Linked DNA regions of Homo sapiens: regions 2 and 3 are each linked to region 1. Evidence: promoter capture Hi-C in human tissues and cell types (Jung and others, 2019). All regions are on one chromosome and are shown on one strand. Each heading gives the region's core, a stretch centred on a gene start or on the middle of the fragment in contact. The rest is flanking DNA. Distances are from core to core; before and after follow the strand shown.

What was found. The method cuts DNA at HindIII sites, captures the fragments that hold promoters and counts their contacts. A contact is called where the count stands out against the background at its distance.
Region 2: the fragment with the promoter of ZBTB4 here is called in contact with the fragment with the promoter of ALOX12B in region 1 in 1 of the 25 tissues and cell types used here (small bowel).
Region 3: a contact is called between the fragment with the promoter of MYH10 here and the fragment with the promoter of ALOX12B in region 1, in 1 of the 25 tissues and cell types used here (stomach).

Annotation. Positions count from the first base shown.
Region 1 is chr17:8,086,292-8,091,415 of GRCh38, reverse strand. ALOX12B (arachidonate 12-lipoxygenase, 12R type) reads left to right here and starts at 3,700. Exons shown (of 15, transcript NM_001139.3): 1 at 3,700-4,120. The coding sequence starts at 3,974. MIR4314 (microRNA 4314) reads right to left here and starts at 3,360; the gene lies at 3,269-3,360. RefSeq lists an enhancer at 3,924-4,672. The HindIII fragment of the contact is 32,393 bases long and covers 1-5,124 here.
Region 2 is chr17:7,476,768-7,481,891 of GRCh38, reverse strand. ZBTB4 (zinc finger and BTB domain containing 4) reads left to right here and starts at 2,261. Exons shown (of 4, transcript NM_001128833.2): 1 at 2,261-2,436. SLC35G6 (solute carrier family 35 member G6) reads right to left here and starts at 446. Exons shown (of 2, transcript NM_001102614.2): 1 at 373-446. The coding sequence starts at 375. RefSeq lists silencers at 1,905-2,164, 2,185-2,644, 2,905-2,954. The HindIII fragment of the contact is 10,425 bases long and covers 1-4,672 here.
Region 3 is chr17:8,627,520-8,632,643 of GRCh38, reverse strand. It overlaps MYH10 (myosin heavy chain 10), which reads left to right and starts at 1,919. Exons shown (of 43, transcript NM_001256012.3): 1 at 1,919-1,990. RefSeq lists enhancers at 219-513, 1,212-1,989, 1,990-2,767, 2,768-3,546 and a silencer at 1,048-1,727. The HindIII fragment of the contact is 16,199 bases long and covers 1-5,124 here.

The DNA.
Region 1 (5,124 bases), core at 2,451-4,950:
CAGCCACATTGACATCCTCAGCATCCCTGCCTCCATCTCCGTCTCCCTCAGGAACCTAATTCCCACTCCACACTGGAGCCCTGAGCAAACCCAGGGCCACCCTGGGATTTGGGTTGGAGGAGACCTATTGGTAGCAGGATATGACTCAGTTTGCCCAGTCCACTGCCCTGCTTCTCACCAAGCCTCAGCAGCCCCCTGGGGACACAGGGCAAAGGGGAGAGATTAGAAAGAGGAAGCTGGGAGAATTTGCATGGAATTTGCATCTTAAGATTTGCATCTTCAGGCTCCCAGCATCCTCCAAGAGTCATCGAGGTGGTTGAGGAGGGAGATCCCAGGGGGGAGATCCAGCTGGACGGCTTCTGTCTGCAGCCCAGGACAGCCAGCCCTGCCACCCAGAGCTGGGCACAACCCTCATCCTCAGCCTTCTCCCCTCTCCTCCCTCCCTCCCCACCCAACCCCTTTCCCTCCCCTACACCACGCCTTGCCCCTTCTCTCACCCTGAGCCCAAGTCAGCTCTCTTCGGATCTTCACCATAACTCCAAAGCCATCATCGATTCAATCCCCAGCCCTGACCTTGTCCTTGTCATTAACCCATTCAACTATGTTTTCGGTGTCTCCCAGGTACCAAGTATGACACCAGGAGATGGGGACAAAACCAAAAAAAAGTATGGACTAATTTATTAGAGAAAACAGACATCAATCAAAGATGTTAGCTATAGTGCTGTGAGAGCCATGTATAGTGAAATTTGGCTTTCCTGGAAAAAGCAATTATTGAGCTAAGATCAGGAGGAAGAGGAAACGTGACCTCAGTTTGAGAGGTAGAGAGGGAACAGCATGTGCCAAGGCCCTGGGATGGTGACGAGCTGACTTCACTTCCTTCAGGTCTTTACTCAAAAGTCTTCTTCCCAAGGAGCCCTCCTTGGCCACTCTGTATCTAAAATATCCTCCTTTTCTTTTTTCTGAGATGGATTTTCGCTTTTGTTGCCCAGGCTTGATAGCAATGGCATGACCTTGGCTCACTGCAACCTCTGCTTCCTGGGTTCAAGCTATTCTCCTGCCTCAGCCCCCGAGTAGCTGGGATTACAGGCATGCGCCACCATGCCCGGCTAATTTTTATTTTTAGTAGAGACGGGGTTACTCCATGTTGGTCAGGCTGGTCCCGAACTCCTGACCTCAGGTGATCCGCCCACCTCAGCCTCCCAAAGTGCTGGGATTACAGGCATGAGCCACCATGCCCGGCACTCCTCTATTTTTTATATTATCCTTCCCTGTTCTCTCTTTTCTCTTCAGCACTTATCACTATTTAACATACTATTTAATGTATTTGGTTACTAGGTAATATTGTCTGCTTCCCTCACTTGAAGGCAAGCTCCATGGGTGCAGGGGTTTGCTTTGATCGCATTGTATTTTCAGGACCTGACACAGCGCTGAACACACAGTAGGGGTTCGGCCAGTGTCTGTTGATGAATGAATGAAAGGCACGTGGTCCCAGACAGAAGAGAGCAAAGGGGAATGTGAGGGGTGAAGCCAATCAGGCAGGCCGTGGGGGCCACGGGAGGGGATGGTGTCACTGTCCCAAAGGTAAAGAGGAGCCACTGCCAGGCTTGATCAGGGTTGGGAGGAGGGAACATAGAGAGTGATGTGAACAGATTTGGGTCTGGAAAAGATCATTTCAATCCCCAACTCCAGCCACATCTGTGTCTCTAACCTAAACCTGAATTGCAGTTTCGACCCCATTCCACATCCAGTCTGGAACCTACTGGAACCTTCTCTTCATCTCACAATCCCAGCCCCCTCTGACCCTAACTTGGCCTGGGCATTGAATGACCTTCCTTCGATGGTGATGGAAGCGTGCCATCAGGGAGGAAAGCAGGGCTATGCTTCCTGGTTGACAGAAGCTGCTCCTCGGAGGTGAAAGGAAAGAGGACAGGTCCAGAAAAAGGGAATAGGAACGTGCCTGCCTCCTCACTCTCCCTGGGTCCCAAATCCTATCTTTGGAGAGTCTATCTCTGACTCTCTCATAATGCTCTTCACCTTACTCCTAACACCTTCTCCCTATCCTGCGGCTCTGACTTCTGTGATTCTATCAGCAACTAGTTCCCAATCCCAACCTCCCACGCTTATTTTCTTCAGAGCACTTAGTATCCAAAATTATAGTGAACAAATTCTTGTTTACTGTTTCTTTCACTTCTTTCCCAGCTATTCCGTAAGCTCCATGTATGTTTCATTTCTTCTCTGCCTCTGCAGTGCCTAGAACGCCGTGCACCGTGCTCACTACATATCTGAGGGAGGAACGACCTGGTTCCCAACAAACACAGTTCCACTGGAGCTCAGCCCTGCCTCCAGCCCTCTTCCTAGCTTCATTCTTTTTTGGGAGGGAAGTGAGGGTATGTACTTTATGAAATTAAAGGATAACACATAATGAAATGAATGAAGTACCCTAGACGCCCCTCAGATCAAGATAAGAACACCTCCAGCAGCCTATATGGCCTCCCTCTGCCAGGGATACTCACCAGTAGAGGTTGTCTGAGAATTGCTCAGTTTTGCTGGTTCTGGAAGTTCCTATCAATGGATAACAGAACGTATCCCCTTTAATGTCTGGCTCTTTTTGCTCAGTATCATCTTTGTGAGACTCATCCGCATTGCAGTTCATTCTTTTTATTCCTGGGTAGAATTCTATTTTATGATTATACCACAAAATATTGATCATATTAATCCATTATTTAACTTAATTCTTTTGTCTTTTTTTTTTGGAGACGGAGTCTTGCTCTGTTGCCCAGGCTGGAGTGCGGTGGCACGATCTCAACTCACTGCAACTTCCGCCTCCTGAGTTCAAGCGATTCTCCTGCCTCAGCCTCCCAAGTAGCTGGGACTACAGGCGCATGCCACCACGCCTGGCTAATTTTTGTATTTTTAGTAGAGACAAGGTTTCACCATGTTGGCCAGGCTGGTCTCGAACTCTTGAGCTCAGGTGACCCACCTGCCTTGGCTTTCTAAAGTGCTGGGATTACAGGCGTGAGCCACCACGCCCAGCTATTTAACTTAATTCTTATGCCCCAGATTTCACTCTGTCTTCTAATTTAGTTTTTTTTTTTTTTTTTTTGGGCTTCTGATTTTATATCCAACTCCAATCCCTCACCAGTGGATCCTGGCCCCACAGGAAGCAACAGATCCCCTTCTCCTACCCTGATCGTTCCTCCCCGCAGCATCTTCAGGCCTTTGGGCACCCATGTGGTCCCCGAGCCCTAGCTTCAACACCTCCCACCCTTCCAGTCACAGACTCTGGGCCCTGGGGCAGAAGGACAGGCCAGCTTTCTCACTGTGGCCACTACCTGTCCCATTTCCCAGAGAGGAATGGCCTGGAGGCTGGCCAGCTGCGCTGCCACTTAGTGCCCCTCCCCCTCCCCTCCCCCGCCCACCAGTGGCCTCAGAACCAATGCAAGTCACTCACTGCCCATGGCCCTGCTTAGTAGGGGTGCCTGGCACTGTAGCCAATGGGGACTGGCAGGAGGAAGGAGCTTATTAGTCTGATAAAGATCTGGGGACCACACCCTGCCCCCTCCCGCAACTTCCCTAGGGCCCTGGCTCAGGCTGGACTGGCTCCCCCACCCTGAAGGCGCCTTCATCCACGGCATCTTCTATCCGCCCTTTCAGAGGCAGGCCCAGTGCCCTGCCTGCTCTTCCTCCCCACCAGCTCCCAGAAGGCTTGGAGCCCAGACACCTGCTCACTCACCACCAGCTGGGCTCCGCCTGGGCCTGCCCGGCACCCACCCCGGCCACCAAGGGCAGCAGCTTTTCCAGAATTTGGCTGGCAGGCCTAGTCACCCCACCTCGCCACCTCACCACTGCACCTCGGAGGCCAGCCCTGTCCACTCCACTCTGTGCCTGGCTTCTCTTGCCTGCCTTGGGCCTTCGTGTGGCCCCTCCACGGTGTCTGGGACTGAGTGCCCCTCTTGCCTCCTGAAGAGCAGCCATGGCCACCTACAAAGTCAGGGTGGCCACAGGCACCGACCTCTTGTCGGGAACACGGGACTCCATCTCACTGACCATTGTGGGGACACAAGGAGAGAGCCATAAGCAGCTGCTGAACCACTTTGGGAGAGACTTTGCAACTGGGGCGGTAAGAGTGTGTGTGTGTGTGTGTGTGTGTGTGTGTCTGTGTGTGTGTGTGTGTGTGTCTGTGTGTGTCTGTGTGTGTCTGTGTGTCTTTGTGGCCCCGGGAGGGGTGAAGGTGCGCAGGGGGAGCCAGGTGAGCTGAGCTTGGCGAGGAGAGGCTGGAGAGCTGAGGCACAGCTCCGAAGGCAGTGGGCTCCCCAGTGGCTCTACACGCCTTGTCCAGAGCTGGCTTCCAGCCCCTCGCCCATGTCCCAGATCTCTGGGCCATCCTTCTCCATCCTGCTCCTTCATCTCTAACCCTTTCAGGCATTCCTCATCTCCCTCCCCATCCTTTTCTTCTCTCTCCCTCTTCCTCAGCCCTCTCTCCCTGTCTCTGCCTATCCTGCATCTCTCTTTTCTCAATCCTTTCCACCTGCTTTCCTTCCCCTTTGCTCTCCTCCCCTTTCTGTCTTACCCCCTCTCCCGCATCCCTCTCTCTTCCATTCTCAGTCACTCTTCCTAATTCAGCTGCCTCCTAACTGTCTCACATTTGCACTGGATTCTCTGTGACTTAAAATGGCATCAGACCAGCCTGTCCAGTGGAAGGCACGCTTTGCGGGTCCTCAGACCTGATTTTCAGTCAGACCCAGCCACCTGCTGCTAGGCGACCTTAATAGGTCACTCTATCTATGTGGCCATTCTGAATATCTGCATCTTCATTGATGAATGGGAGAAGGGGCTGGCTGGGCCTCTCCCCACTCGAAAACTGTAGAGTGGTACCCAAGTCCCCAGGGGTCTGAAGGGTTCCTGCAACCTCAGGTGCCTGGAGAGGGGAGTGGGAGAAGACAGGAGCTGGGGATGGAGAGAAGGAGGGGCTGGAGTCCTACATAGCCCTGGGTAGAGGAATCCAGTAGGAGACCCCCAAGCTGGAGAAGTCAGAAGGAAGCTCAATGATCAGGTCAATATCCTGTCCCTCCGTCAGTCCAGGGAGGTGAGCATTGCGCAGCATGAGCAGGGCCTAGGTGAGGG
Region 2 (5,124 bases), core at 1,012-3,511, 610 kb after region 1:
CTGTACAGTGTTGGGCTATCTTGCTGAGGAACTCTTCGGAGCTAGAAAGGGCCTAAAAGATGAGTGAGATGTTATAATGTGGGCCTGGAGCAGGAAGCAAGGAGTGAGCAGTCCTGGAGCATCGTTTCCCTGGGTAAGTTGTTCCTGGGAGGAGAAAAAGGACCCAGGATGCTCTCTCGGATTGAGGAAGGGGAGGAAGCCTCAGATGCTATGCATCTGTATGATGCCACAGGTTCCAGAGACATCTGGGTACACCATTATGAATTCTATTTGTGGGTATCTCTGAGACAGCTAAGTTTTAGGAAAGGAGGGGAAATGGAGCAACCAGGAGCTATAGGGAGGGAGTACTAGGCCCCTGGCCCCCACACTCACCATCTTTCCTTGGACTTTCTCCTCTCCTCCTGGCTCAGGGAGCCTGGGCCCCTCAGAGCTCCAGCCATTGTGACATGGTTGGAGTGGGGGTGGGGTTCTTCCCTGGAACTCTCCTGAGGTGGTAGCACGCCTATTTTCCCGCTGAGTCCAACTCTGCTTCTTTTCTTTCTTTCTTTCTTTTTTTGTTTGCGACGAAGTTTCCACTCTTGTTATCCAGGCTGGAGTGCAATGGTGTGATCTCATCTCACTGCAACCTCCACCTCCCAGATTCAAGCGATTCTCCTGCCTCAGCCTCCCAAGTAGCTGGGATTACAAGAATGTGCCACTACACCTGGCTAATTTTTTTTTTTTTTTTTGGGACGGAGTTTTGCTCTTCTTGCCCAGGCTGGAGTGCAGTGGTGCGTGCAATCTCGGCTCACCGCAACCTCCACCTCCTGGGTTCAAGCAATTCTCCTACCTCATCCTCCCAAGTACCTGGGATTACAGGCATGTGCCACCACACCCCGCTAATTTTTTATTTTTCGTAGAGATGGGGTTTCTCCATGTTGGCCATGCTGGTCTTGAACTCCTTACCTCAAGTGATCCACCCCACCACCCCCCGCCTCCCAAAGTGGTGGAATTACAGGCATGAGCCACCGTGCCCAGCCCAACTCTGCTTCTTTTCTATTTATGTCTCCATGACTCCAAAGTTTGTCTGATTCTTTTATTCTTTTTATGGCTAGCTCTGTGGCTTTACATTAATTTGTTTATTTATATCTTGCATGGTTTCAGAGAGGTTTTTTTGTTGTTGTTTTTTTTTTGAGACGGAGTCTGTCTCTGTCGCCCAGGCTGGAGTGCAGTGGCGAGATCTCGGCTCACTGCAAGCTCCGCCTCCCAGGTTCACGCCATTCTCCTGCCTCAGCCTCCCGAGTAGCTGGGACCACAGGCGCCCGCCACCACGCCCGGCTAATTTTTTTGTATTTTTAGTAGAGACAGGGTTTCACCGTGTTAGCCAGGATGGTCTCGATCTCCTGACCTCGTGATCCGCCCACCTCGGCCTCCCAAAGTGCTGGGATTACAGGCGTGAGCCACCGCGCCCAGCCTCAGAGAGGTTTTAAGGCAAGGAGCTGTGAACCCTGGCTCCTCCATCTCCTTAGTTTTTAATTTTCCAGCACCAGGGAGGAGTTCTTGGGATTGTCCCTGTGGAGTTTCAGGAATGTGTTTTTTCTGTGTGTGCTTCCACCTGGTGTTTTGTTGATGCTGTCCCCAGAGGCCGACACCAAGGCCTCTGCATTTATGTTCAAGTATACAGATGTGGATCTATCTGCTGGTGGGGACAAAGTACCCAGCCAGCTTCATGTGTTCATTTGCGCTGGTGGTCGTTCGTGTGTGCCCCGTATGCAGGGCCAGGGCCTTCTTTTTCCGCGGCCTGCTGAGCTTTCCTGCGCATTCCTGGAGAGGGTGTGTGTGTGTGTCCAGGGCTGGCCCTCTTTGAGTGTGCCGACCCTGGGTCTGTGAGTCCCACCGGGCCTGATTATGAGTCTGCCATGTCATGTCTGCACCCTGAGAGCCTGTGTGTTATGCTTTCAGGCAGTGTGCACCGCTGAGTGAAGGGCGTGCAGGAGGAAGGGCGGAGGGAGCCCTTTCCCTGGGGGTCGGTGGTCTTGCGCCCCTGCCGGGATGCTGCAGCCCGGCCCGCGCCCCGCTCGGTGTCCACCCGCCCGGTGGCCCAGCGCGGCGCAGTGTCATGCCGCGGGGGTCAGTCCTGGGGAAGGCCGTCGGGCGCTCGGAGCTTTGTGTCGGTGTCGGCTGCGCTGCGCCGGCCTCCTCTCGGCGGCGGCGGCGGCGGCGCTGGGGGGGGACTGTTTCCGGGGGTGGGGGTGGGGGTAGGACCGGGGCGGGGGGAGCCGATGATGTCAGCGGCGGCGGCGGCGGCGGCAGCGGGGCCGGGCCGGGGCCAGGCGCTGGGGGGGCCAGGGCCGGAGCTGGAGCCGGAGCCGGAGCTGGAGGCGGGCAAAACCGGAGCGGCCGGGGGCGGCCACGGTGATGAGCCGGGCCTGGCGGACGCGGCGCCATCGCAGTCAGGTGGGCCCTGGGGCGAACTGGGCAGGGCCAGGGCGGACCGGAGCCAACTGCCAGGCCCCCTCTCCGCTGCCCGGCGCTGCGGGAGCCCCGACCGCGCCCCGCGCCCAGACCGCTCTCCTTTGGGGTTGACCTGGGGGCGCAGGGGTCGGGGGCTGAGCCTGGCCCCGCCCCCGGGCGCGCACGACGCTGGGGGGCGACTAAGGGGGCCCTGGTATGGCGTCCGAGCGAGGGGCGGCCGTGGGACGCGATCGCCTGGGGCCGTGGAAGGGGAGGTGCTCACTCCCTCTTTGAAGGGTTAATTCTGCAGCCTAATGGCCCCCTCCCCCCGTGGGGCAGATTGGGGGTGGGGTGGGGCGGGTGTGAGCCCGGGCAAGCGCTGCAAGCTGCTGGGAGGGTGATGGCGTAGGAGCCAGGCAGAGAGGGGGAGGGGTGGGCCGCCGAGCGCCCCAGAGTTGGGGTGTGCGGGGTGCGCAGGGCGAGCTGGGGCCCCGGAACCGCCGCGCCGTCGGGGCAGGGTTGTGGCTGTGAGTCTTGGAGATCGTGTGTCTTGTGCTGTGTGGTGGGGCAAGGTAAACCTCTCCTGGGCACCACCGTTTGCTGGCAGCCAGGGGTCTGGGTAGGGCCCTCCCTGGGCCATGGAGATAGAAAGCCAGGAAGGGTGTCCAGTGTTGTGGGGCAGAGTTACAAGACGAGCCCTGTGGCTTTGGGTGACAGATGGGTATTCTGAGCAGGGCACAGCATGCTGGGTGCAGAGTTTGTTCGATGTGGGGCTGTATGTTTTCTACAGCATGTGTTTTCTCGCATGTGTGTCTTGTGCTGCACCTATGACCTGTTTATGAACTGTTTTCTGCAGAGCTGGCATGCTGTATGTGTTGCGGAGGGTGCCAGGATGCAGTGTATGTGCCCTTTTGGAGGGGGCGGTTGTGGGCCTTTGAGTCAGAAGGCGTCACGTCTGGGTCCCATTTCTGTGGCCCTGCTGAGGTGTGGTCCAGTGGTGAAGAGGGCGATGGATGGGTTTGCGTGTCTGTGATGAGCGCGTTGCATGGGGGCTGCGCGTCTAGAACTCAGATCCCAAAGATCATGAGAGGAGCGAGGAACCCCGGGGTATGTCTCAGGGGCCTGTGGGTCAGTTGGCACTGGTGTGAGGGGCTCGAGGTGGAATGCGCCAGTTGTGTTTATGGGATCATGGGCAGCCAAGCGAGGGGAAGGTTGTGTGTTTGCAACATTCTCCACAGGATTCTTTTGTGACGTTGTTTGTAGGAGCCTGTCTGGGCTGCTGAGCTGGGAGGCAAACTGGTCAGAAAACACATGTGGGGAGGGAGGTGGCGTGACAAGGGCAGTGTGGGCCTCAGACCCAAGAGGCCAGCCGCAAGCAGGCTGTGTGTGCGTGCCTGCCGTCTGTGTGCTTAAGTGGCGGTGGGGCTGCGGAGGGGATTTGGTATGAGGAAGGCGGGAGATAAATGCAGGGTAGCGCATGGAGGCCGGCGGGAGGCATGGGTGTTGTCAGATGGCCCAGCTAATCTTTGCAGGGTCTGTATGTTTGCCCCTCATGAGCCTGCCCAGCGTGTCAGGGTCACCCGGAGGAGAGGCTGGGCGGCCACAAGGGAAGTAAGCTTAGACAGAGAGGCTCCTTGGCCATGTTTATGTAAAGGCTGGGTGTGACTCTTGTCACTAAAATGGAAAAAAGAAACGTGAAGTTTTCAGCCTCCTCCTGCTTCACCCTCTCCCTCTCTCTGCCCCCCTTGTGGGTATCTCTGACGCACACTGGGCCCCACTCCTGCGACGGTGGAAGGGCCTCAGAACAGAATTCGCTCACTAGGCAGATTCCTCAGAACAGGTTTTCCTCACCTTTGGGGACTGGGCCCTTCTAGGGGTGTGTGTGCAAGTGCATTCCAAGCCTGCACACCACTGTCTACTGTGCCCGGCCCCACTGGAAGGATGTGTGTACGTGGGGGAAGGGAGGGTGCTGCGGACAGGCCCTCCGGCATGGGGGGCTGGGAAGGGGTGGCTGCCGTGGGAGCCTGCTCAACAGGTGCACAGTGACGGTCTGGTGAAGAGAAAGGAGCCATGGTCCAGGGCTGAGGAGCTCTGGCGTCTTTACCATTCCCTCACTGGCACTTGATCTGAAGGAAGCTCAGTTCCTCATCTGCAGAATGGGGCTGATTGTCTGCCCTGCGTATCTTCCAAAAGCACATGGGAAACGGACCCGGAAAGTGGCTATAGTCTGGGGGCTGTGCCTATGCCAGCCCCTGTCAGCCCTCCCCCAGGACTGGGAATTCCCTTCTTGGGGCTTCGCTGATAATAATGGCAGCACACACTTGCTTAGCACTGACCGTGCACCAGCCTGTCCTCAGGGCACTTATATGTGGCCACTCTGTCCTCAGAACAACACCCTGAAGTAGGCACTCTACCTCCCTTTTTCAAGTGAGGCAGCTGAGGTCCAGAGAAGTTAAGTAATCTGCCCCAAGTCACTTAGCTAGTAAGAGGTGAAGCTGTATTTGAACCCGGGCAATCAGGTTGAAGATCTTGTGCTCTTAACTACTGTACTCTGCTGCCTTCTGGAACATTCAGTGGATGGTCCTTTCTGTGCAACTCCCTCCAACACTCTTCTCCCCAGTTGCTGCAGAACTTAGCATTTGCAGCAGTCCATTTCAGAAGACCCGGATGCTCAGGGATCCCCAGCTGAGG
Region 3 (5,124 bases), core at 670-3,169, 540 kb before region 1:
CACATATATATGCAAAAGTTTTTGAATTATGAGAAACTACTGACTCTGTGGCTTACAGTGTTATTCGCGAGTGGATGCACTAAGCATAGAACATTGCACTGAGAAATGACTTCGGTGGCTGACAAAGTGGAGACTCAGGCCTCAGAGAGGGAGTCTTTGGTCTTCTCTAAACACATTTTAAAATTCATTAGAGGAATATCATTCATATATTTTGGAAAGTTAATTTGTACTCCATGTGCAGACTGCATTAGAAGGACAGACCTCTTCACAGAGCCAAGTCACAAGACACCTGGACACGGGGTAGTACCCCAGCAGGCAGGTGGGGGTGGGGGACCAGATGCAGCAGGACAAAGGACAAAACAGAGCCTGGTTCGGACTTCCCCAGGAAGGACTCTGCACTCAGCTGCCTTCCAGCCTCTTCTGAATTCCACCAACCCTTCCTTAGGACTTCCTGCCTTGTTTTTTGCTTAATTCACTTTTTGCCAGACTAGACGTTTCCTAGGCTTAGGCAAACACATCATTATCACATGTATTAAAATGCTCCCATAGCCTACATTAATAACTGATTAATAACTGCATCTTGCTGTGAATTTTTATGATCTTGACTTTCAGGTTTTGTATGAATAATTCATTTTGTTCATGTGATTTAGACTTTATTATATTTATATATAATTATGCAAGAGTTTTGTTGCAGTTGCCTAGATTCTGCAGACATTTCATTAAATTTTATTTACTTTGATTTTTCCAGTTTCCTTTCGTTATTTTGGGGCCACTGTTTTTCAGTCTCCAACGTTTTCATAAGCCCTAGGGGATATGACAGCGCTACAGGAATCCAGCCTTATATTCTTAAGAACCTCTCATAGCCCTTCACGTAGGGAGCTCTGATGAATGAATGAAGGAGCGACTGAACGAGTGAATGAATGAGGTGAATAAAGTTTCTTCCAAGTTTTCTCTCCAAGGTCGGTTCTCTTCTCATTCTTCTGGAATCTCAGCCTTGCCTGGAGGCTGGGCAGGAGAGCCTCTCACCCCGCTAACACCAAAACTGCGACCTTGGAGGACCGTGTCCTGCGCCTGGCGCTCGGCCGATCCCGGCAGAGTCCGCCTGGGGCCGGGGTCGGGACAGTGGCCGCAGCGTGGAGCGCAGCCGGGTCCCGGGCCAAACCCTGTGCGCATGGGCGGAGCAGCGCCCTCCCCCGCGTTCCTTCCCCCACTGCAGGTGAGTCGCAGCGCCGCGGCCCCAACCCCGCGCAGCCCCGGGGGTGACGTCAGGACTCTGGACCGCGCTCCGCCCCGCCCCTGCAGGCAACGCTGAGGGCCCGCGACTCCGCGGTGGAACCCCGTCCCGCTGCGGTACATGCCGGCTGCCGCAAGCACAGGGGGCGACCGGGCGCTCGAATGTGCTGCGGCTGCGGCGGCTGCCTGACGCTAGGACGAGGAGTCTGCAGTCAGAGCGCCAGCCTCCTGCCGCGGCCCACCTGCCCCGCGGCCCGCACAGCCAATGTCAGCGCAGCGCGCCGGCCGCCGCGGGGCCCGCACCCGCAGCCTCGCGGGATCGCCGGGCGTTCAGCCAGCCTCAGCTGTCCATCTACGCACGAGCCAGCCAATCCCGCGCCACTGCCCCGGCCGCACCTCCCGGAGCCTATGACGGGCGTAAGAGCCAGCCCATGAGATTGGGGCCTCTGTGGCCTGGGCTGGGAGCGGGAGCCAATGAGCGTCATTCCAGGTGGGTGGAGGGAGCCGGACTCGGGAAGGTAGCTTCGTTCGGGTTGCTAACGTCTTCCCTTGGAGATGGGCGCGCAAACCAACCAGTGGGTCTGGGGGCGGCGGTGATGGGCGTGGAGCTGGCCCAATGAGGGTAGGGGTGGGTGGGGCAGCCCCGAGCAGCAGTGCTAAAGGAGCCCGGCGGAGGCAGCGGTGGGTTTGGGACTGAGGCGCTGGATCTGTGGTCGCGGCTGGGGACGTGCGCCCGCGCCACCATCTTCGGCTGAAGGTGAGAGGTGCGGCTACCCGGGTCCGAGTGCACGGCCCAGGGCTGGGGGACAGTTTGTGGAGGGAGGAATGGCTCCTGGGCTGAGGGGTCCCGGGCGGCTCTGGAGGACAGGAACGGGGGACCGAAGCGGGAGCTGGGGAAGACAGAGGGGCTTCTGAGCTGTAGGGTTTGTGCTGCGGGGACCTTAGGTTAGTTTGAGCAGGGTCCTGGGCTGGGGGCACTGGGACCTCAGTGGGTGGAGATGGAGAGACTCCCGGAGGAGCGGGGAATGAAGTCCTTGTGAAACCCGCGGGGGTCAGGGCCTGGGTGTGCAGGAGGGCGACCCCTGGGGGGCTGGGGGATGGAGATCTGGGGGTGGGGACGTGAGGACCAGGTTCTCGGTGGGTGGGATCCCTGGGGGCGCGAGGTCGAGGGGCTAGTGTCCCGGCGGAGGTCTCGGCGTGCCCCGCGAGCCAGTGTCTGCCTCCCAGGAAGAGAGGGGATTCTAAGCGGGGCTGGAAAGCGCAGTCCCGGCGGTAGGGTGGGGGGGCGCTGGGCAGGAAGGGCCCCTGCGTGGGTTGCTGGGTGGGTTAGGCCTGGCGCGACCGGTCCCCCGCAGCACCAGAGGGGTTCACCATGGGCTTGGAAGGCGGGCGGCGCGCGCCCGACCCGTGGGTGGAGGGACAGGAGGGCATTGGCTCTGCGCGGCCGGGGAAGCGCGCGGCGGGTGAGGGGCTCCGGAGCCGGCCGCGGGCGTGGGGAGGGTCGGACTCCGCCGGCGCCGGGGAAGGAGCGCGGGAGGAGGGCGTCCTGCCGCGCCCTCCGTGGAGCGCCTAGGCCGGGGGTGGACGCCCTGCGAGGCCCAGGCGGTTTGAGGGGGCGAGGCGGGAAATGTGGCGGGGCGCGCTGCAGCAGGACGGCCGGGGGGAGGGTCAGCACTCGCCTCGGGATCCCTTTATTGTGTAAGCGAGCTGGGAATGGCTCGCCGCAGTCTCTTCATTGCCTTCTGCAGTTGGGGGTCACACCCTGATCCCATAAAATCGGACTGGAATTGGTTCGGAGGGAAGTTGAAGCCGCGGAGTCCTGGCATTTGTGGGGGCTTTGTGGGCCTGTGGTGGGCGGATGCGGCCCTGGGAAGCGGGAGGCCCCCAGCCAGGCCTGTTTGGAACTAGGGCCTTAGGAAGGAGGTTGGCGACTCGGCGGGTCAGACCGGGCTGGTGAGGTTTGGATAACGTGGCCTCTGCCTACAGCCGTTATCTCTGTTTCTTTAGGGCCTCTGCAGCTCCCTTCAAGATCACTGCGGTGGATGGAAGGGGGTGGGGTGGGCTGGGGTGGGGTAGGGGAAAGCAGGCGGGGTAGATGCAGACTGCAGATGAAACAAAGACTGCTGTTTTCGCTGAATAATGTAATACCAAACATAATACTTTGGCTTTGCTGAGATTTTGTTTTTTAACGTTGAAACTGAGGATTCTTTGAGTCAGGTTTAATTATTCTTGATAGTATCTCACTCTGGAAAACTTTATAATCTATTTATTGTTTTATCTCCTTCATCAATCTGCCTTTATTAATTATTCTTTGAGTCCCTTGCTTTTGATGTTTAAGTATGCCCTGCCTGTCTCGGGTTCTGGAAAAGTGGCCATTTTATGCATCTCCTTACTTCTGCATCTTAAATTCAGTTCTTCCCCGTCCTTATCTGGAGAAAGCATATGGTGTAATTGTGCGATATAGCACGAGCTTTGGCAGCAGAAGGATGTGACCCCTGCGAGCCTGGCTTTTCATTTGGGCTCCATAGGGAAATCATTATAACGAAGGCAGCTGAGATGGAAGGTGAGATGGAGGAAATCTTGAAGGGCACGTTGTAGGGTGGAAGACTATATGCTTCAGCGGTTTATGCACTTTATCACATGTGAGGAATTAAAGTTCCTGGTGTTGGATCCTAGTTTTGGAAATATTAAACACAGTATAGAGATATTAATTGGGAGATGGGGCAGGCCATAAGTAGCAATAGTGGCCTTTTGTGTTTGGTTTGTGTTTGTGATCATTGGGTTGAGCAGGATTTTGATAAATTAGCAGACTCGTCCAGCCCTGTCATGTAAGTGACCTCAATGGTAGCAGTACCCAAATTGGGACAGTTCTGTTTTAGCTCATCTGTTATAGATGGATGCTCTGTCATGGATAATTTATCCATCCTTCTTGTTTGCCTTTCTATGTGCAGGCCGTTCATAAAATTGAATTGTTTGCCTCTGTCCACACTCATAGTAGGTGCTGGGAGGGATTTGAAAAGTTTGCTGGGTGACATTTCATTGGAAGTGAAAAATGACCTGGGGGTGGAGCCCCAGGGGTGTGTGTGTCAAACCACTGAAAGGGATGGCAACTTTGGCTCTGTAGGGGGCTAATTCATACACAGATAAATGATTTAATTGTAATTAGGCAGCAATTTAAAATGACACTAATAACCCTCAGACCATCTTTATGTTCGCTAACAAAAAGATTCCTGTTTGTCTTTATTTCCCCTAAGTTATGGGTATCTTTTTCTATAAAATATATAAAACCTTTGCCAGATGATTCATTGGTTAAGCCTATACTTTTTAAGCCGTAATTGATTGGGTTTTTATTTAGTAGAAAGGTAGTATATAGCATTGTACACTACACACCCTTCAAAATTTCCTCCATGTCACCTTCCATCATTGTAGTGTGTACTCTGGAGCTGAACTCTGAGTTTAATCCCAGCTCTGCTACTTGTTAGCTGTGTGCCCTTGGGCTGGTTATTGGCTTTCTCTGTACCTCAGATTCCTCATCTGTAAAATGGAGATATTAATAGTGCCTACCTCATAGGGCTGTTGTGAGGATTAAGAGTTGATGTATGTAAACTGCTTAGAATAGTGCCTGGCCATAATTAGTGATATATGACAATGGTATCTGCTGTTTTAAAAATCATAGTGTTGTCCTTCCTGCAAAGCAAATCACTGGTGAGTGGTACACTGTTAAACACCAGTATTATCCAGATTGGGTACCAATGTATTATGGAGTGAAATAAATGTATTTGACAATTACAAGTGAAGAATTAAACTGAACAAAATATCTCCAATGGTCTCATGAACTCTATCAGGTAAACAATAATATGAACACTTAACAGCTGCAAAGCCCTCTGGTAC